2 separate regions of the Homo sapiens genome follow, and region 1 is linked to region 2. The links are contacts of gene promoters, found by promoter capture Hi-C in human tissues and cell types (Jung and others, 2019). All regions are on one chromosome and are shown on one strand. Each heading gives the region's core, a stretch centred on a gene start or on the middle of the fragment in contact. The rest is flanking DNA. Distances are from core to core; before and after follow the strand shown. Region 1 overlaps MINDY3 (MINDY lysine 48 deubiquitinase 3). Region 2 holds the start of TRDMT1 (tRNA aspartic acid methyltransferase 1).

What was found. The method cuts DNA at HindIII sites, captures the fragments that hold promoters and counts their contacts. A contact is called where the count stands out against the background at its distance.
Region 1: a contact is called between a fragment that was not itself captured here and the fragment with the promoter of TRDMT1 in region 2, in 1 of the 25 tissues and cell types used here (lymphoblastoid cells).

The regions. Positions count from the first base shown.
Region 1 is chr10:15,790,705-15,793,404 of GRCh38, forward strand. All of the region lies in intron 11 of MINDY3 (MINDY lysine 48 deubiquitinase 3), which reads right to left. The region is part of intron 1 of LOC124902383 (a long non-coding RNA gene); the gene reads left to right. Among named protein-coding and RNA genes, the nearest start is that of MINDY3, 68 kb to the right of the region's middle. The HindIII fragment of the contact is 3,404 bases long and covers 1-2,700 here.
Region 2 is chr10:17,200,279-17,202,978 of GRCh38, forward strand. It overlaps TRDMT1 (tRNA aspartic acid methyltransferase 1), which reads right to left and starts at 1,394. Exons shown (of 11, transcript NM_004412.7): 1 at 1,293-1,394. The coding sequence starts at 1,356. RefSeq lists a silencer at 1,032-1,091. The HindIII fragment of the contact is 10,509 bases long and covers 1-2,700 here.

The sequences.
Region 1 (2,700 bases), core at 42-2,541, 1.4 Mb before region 2:
TTCAAATTTTTTCTGGTTTATGAATATTTGCAAATATATAATGGCTGAACATCCCTGATCTGGTCCAAAATCTGAAATGCTCCACGGTGTCATATTGGCACTCAAAATTTTGGAGGATCAACCTTTCGGGTGAGGGATGCTCAGTCTGTACACCGTTTTTCAGGAGCACTGACAGCATGTACTTTGTCATGGCTGGCAGCCTTTCCGCAGAAACCATAACCTGCAACTCAGTTCCCACCCCAACCAAGAGCTAATTGGCAAATGACAACAAAAACAACAATGTGACCTTCTTAACAACATGCTTATATATGATTAACCTCAAGCTTAAACATTTTTAAGGTAGCTATGAGATTTACAACTCATAAGCACAGATATTCTGAAGTGTAACCATAACTGTACCCGGTCAGTAACTCTACATTTTGTACATTTAGTATTTTAAAACTAAAGATGTAATAGAATTTTCTCAATAATTCAAAACTTTTAATATACTCAAGATTAGAAGAGATTTCAAAATTATTTTCCTTTGTAGAAGACTTACTTTGACATGTTAACCATACCTACAAAAAATTCCTTAGAAAAAGGCCAGAATCATTAAGTGTAAAAACAGATGAAACCTAGGTCATCTGACATTTCACCAACTGACTCCCTAGAGAATAAGGAAACAGAGGCACAAAGATGAAAAGACAACCTCAAAGTCAACAGCAAAGGAAATCTCAGAGAATACCATTTGATTAGTCAAGCAGATCTATGAAGAACTAAAAGAAAAAAATAGAACTTGCATACACTGGTAAATTAACTACATAGATATCAACACAAAAGAATGGGGACTATGAGGCAGGGCAAGCAAAAGAGGGCAGAGCAGCCAGGATGGGAAACGGCTAGCATGTACATACTGTAATGCTGTTGGATTGTGGCTGAAAGGAGGAAAAAAGCTGTTGGTTTAAAATTTTAAAAGATTTTTACCAGTTGAATATCCAGATTGCTAAAAGTGTCAAGTCCTTAGAGATTGTGGGGAGGAATAACTCAATGCAAAGGAGCGCTGATGAAGGACAGTGAAAGTGAGGCATGTAATTTCCTGGATAAGATAACTATTTCATAACTGGGAGGAAACCTGAGTTGGGCTTTCAAAGGAAATATAAAACAATCAGGATTTCTGTCCTGAAAGATTAAGAAATAAACAGGAGAGCCTAGCAGGTCTCAATTTTAACAGAGATACTAGCTAAACTGGACACTGCAGGAAGAGAAGCCAAATGTTGGATACTCAAAACTAACAGAGAAGCTGGAAAAAGGTTTCTCAGAGTTGTGCAACAAACAGCTTATAAGGAAACTGTGAAGCCCACTGTACTTGAGACTAACATTTTCCATACACTGTGGGAGAGGGAGACTACAGTTTCTTGGGAATTAAAAAAAAAATAGAATTTAATAAAGCCTTAGTATTTATTAAATTGTAGGTCTATATTCCTATTGAAAAAGCAAGTGACCTTTTCCCCAAGGCCAAGTCACACACCAGAGCTGAGCTTTTCCAGACCTCTTTGGCATTACTTCTGGCTCCCCAGTGGGCAATGAGTTCTGGAGGGCAGGGAGTCCAGATCCCCAGGGCCTAGCACAGTGGTTGACTCATAGCTGCTCGTTAACATTTGTTACTTTTAATGATACAAGCTCATAAATAAGTAGCTCATTTATAGCTTGTACTGCAAATTCACTTTTATTATGGGATGGAAAAGGTACAAAATATGGTGGCACTATACAGAAAACTGTTAGCTGGGGATGCCTGACAGAAACAGTGCTAACAGTGACGGGAGGCCACAGCAAGGGCACAGGGAGGAGCATTTATTTAAAAGGAACAGAAAAGACAAGGCAATTCTAGAGAATGCCTAGGGAGTGGTGTATATTAAGCTCTACCTACAATAGTCCAATTATTCTTAAAGATTAAAAAAATGCAGTACACTGAAATCAGACAAAATATGGCTGTCAACATATTTTAGCAACTTAACAAAACAAACAGCTTCAGATTTAAAAGAAATGGTGTTGCTTCCTGACATATAATTGTACAAGGGGGAGGGGATAAAGGAGAAAGAAGAAAACAAAATTCATTATGTATAATGTGAAAACCTGTGATTAGCAGTTCAGACACTACCTATGTAGACCTTGATGTCTTTGGAGGTTATGGAATAAGCTCTGTGCCACACATTTTTTAAAAAAACAACACCATGGTTAATGTATTGAGTGCTGACTAATCATATAAAGTTACTCTTAAGTCCATTTTACAGATGAAAAACTGAGGTAGGAACTCGTCCAACATCACACAGCTAGTGAGGCGTAACGGATGGAGCCATTTTCCTGGTATCCAGAGGCACTAGAGAATTGTTGTTGTCCAGTATCTTTGATCATATTAATATATCTTTATCAATCATTTTACAATAATTCCTATAAAACATGTACCTGAATACGAAGCACATATCCAAACATTTTCTTCCACAAAAAAGACACACAAAAATAAACACTGTGGACTTTCTCCAAAGCTCATGTGGAACACTTTGAATAGACCTGATAACTGCTTCTCTTTAAGCTGAGTAAGTGTGCTAGTCTCCCCTTTCTGAATCTGAGATTAAACTGAGCCAATTATCTAGAGGTGATACATCAAGGTCCCACAGAAAGTACAATTTTGTTACTATTCAAATGAGAAATTAACAGTTAAAA
Region 2 (2,700 bases), core at 144-2,643:
TCATTAAGGAGTTTCAAGATATGGGAAAACGCGGACATTATATCACTTTAGAGAATTAACAAAGAGTAAATAGTACTAGAGTTTTGCTTTGATGCTGCTAAGTTTTAAAATGAGAAATAAAGATAGCCGGCAAACAAGTACTAAAAACTTAATGATCATTAACCTAGTCTAGAATTGAAACTCAATAAATCTGCTCAAAAAACTTATACGCTAAACCCATTAAATATTGTCTGTATCTTACAGTTACTCTTGTTACTCTTGGTCCTAAATAAGGAAGCAGGGAAGTTTCAGTTCGGTGGTTGTCTTAGTAATTTAAGAATAAACATGCACCTTCAAAGCCTGTTTGTCATTCTGTATCCCCAGCTCCTAGCACAAAATCTGGCACAGAATAGGAGCTCAATAAATAATTTTGAGTGAATATCACCAAAAGTAAAACTTTCAGTTCCAACTCAGCATGAAAGAAATCAAAAACCTCAAAATCAAAGACGTGCATAAAAGTAATAGTTTGCTTGATAATATCTCGTGATGTCGTTTTAAAGTAATAGTGATAATAATGTATAATATTTGGAGTGGTTACAATGTATCAGGCACTAACAAGCACTTGACAGACTTTAATCCTTATAATAATCATTCTCTTTTAAAACCAGGAAACAGGTTCATCACTGTTCACGAAGTAGCCCAACGTCACACTGCCACCAAGCTGGAACTCAGTTCTCTGGCATCTAAACGCAGAACTACAGAAGACACGTTTCTTTCCAACGATCAGACGTCCAAGTTCTTCAAGCTTCCTCTACCATCCTATTTAGCATTCGCAAACTTCTACCTTGAATTGTAGCTATTATCCCTTCCAAGATCCATCTCTCACCAGGGGAGCCCCTGACACTCCCTCCCTCCCCAGCTGGGAAGCCCCCCAGGATGAAGGACCGAGTCTCCATGCTTCTCGGTGGCTGCACACTTAGAATGGGGGCTTGGCACCAGGCGAGGGTCTCGCCCCTTTGATACCCTTTGAGGTTGATTTACTGCCTTGCGAATCCCGACTCCCAACTGGGCCCTTTGAGGCGCCATGTGCGGCCCCTCGAGCCAGACTCGGCGCCAGGAGAAGGGAGTCAGCGTCTGGAGGGGTGGACACGGCGGCGCGCAGGAGCTGTTTCCAGGACAACCGAGGGCCGCCCCACAGTGTCCGCCCCACAGTGTCCGCCCCTTGCGTCTCGCCGCTCCGCCCCTTCCCGGCGCGGGTGCTCCAACCAGCCCCCGTGAGCGAATAGAGAGAGGGGTGCTAGATGGACTCTCACCTCTCAGCGCGTGGTGCATGCCGCCCACGCCGCTGTATAGCTCCAGCACCCGCAGGGGCTCCATCCCCGCGCCTCAGCCGCCGCAGCCCCGGAGCTAGGCCTGCCGGTCCGTCGCTCCTCCTCCCTCCATCGCGCCGCTCCCTCAGCCTCTGGTTCCGCGGCGTTTCAGTTCCCCCGTCTCCTACCGCTCCAGGCTCAGGGCTTCAGAGGGCCTCGCGGCCTGGGGATTGGCAAGGGTCTAGAGGGGAACAAAGGACGGAAAACAATAAGGCTTCCCGAATGAATGGCAGCCACTCTGTAGCCTGATTTACGCTCCATTTCCTTCTTTGGTGTCAGGGGCCTTGATTGGAAAAGAAATCCAGAGTTCAGTAAAGGGGAGAAAACTGCCTTGGTTTCCAAGTGAATTAACACTGGTTAGAAGCCAGAAAAAAATCATTTTTCAGACAAGCTGCTTTTCTGTCACTTAGAAGCCTGAACATTCAAACATTCTTTCCACAGTGTGCCTTGTTTCCTGCCTGCCCTGGGTCAATAGAGAGAAATTAGACCAGCCTCTCCCCTAGAGAAGATTCCAGAATTATAAGTAAGGACACAAGTCCACTCGCAGCAGAGAAAGCCCTGTGTGCGTGCTGATAATACAGAGGATGTTTGTTGTGTCTATTAGTGGGGTTAATTATGTTTTAGCTTGGAAATTACACCTACATAGAATACACAGTGAATATCATGTAGGATTATTTATGGGTCTTTAAGTGCTATGGCCTTGATTCCTCAGGATGATCCAGTAACCAACTGTTAGAGGCTCATGTTGACGAAAAAAGCCAAACTCCGTAAAATGTTTGAAGAGGTTTATTCTGAGCACAAGGTGAGGACCGTGACCCATGACACAACCCCACAGGGTCCTGACAACATGTACCCAAGGTGGTTGGGCTACAGCTTGGGATTATATGGTTTTAGGGAGACATAAGGACATTAACTGGTATATGGAAGGTGTACTTAGTTTGGTCCATAAAGATGGGACAACTCAAAAAGGGGAAGGATTCCAGGTTACAGGTGGATTCAAAGATTTTCTGATTGGCAGTTGGTTGAAAGAGTTAAGTTGTGACCTAAAGACCTGGAATCAATAGAAAGGAATGTGTCTGGGTTAAGATAAGGTGGAGACCAAGGTTCTTATTATGTAGACGAAGTCTCATACGTAACAGGCTTCAGAGAGAATAATTGGCAAATGTCTCTTATCATGTGTAAAAAGATGCCAGACTCTTAGTTAAATATCTCTTGGATCAGGAAAAGACCTGGAAAGGGAAAGGGAGTCTCTATAGAATGTAGATTTTCCCCACAAGAGATGGCTGTGTAGGGCCATTTCAAAAAGTGTCAAAGAAATTTATTTTAGGGTAAAATGCTTTGATTTAGGGCC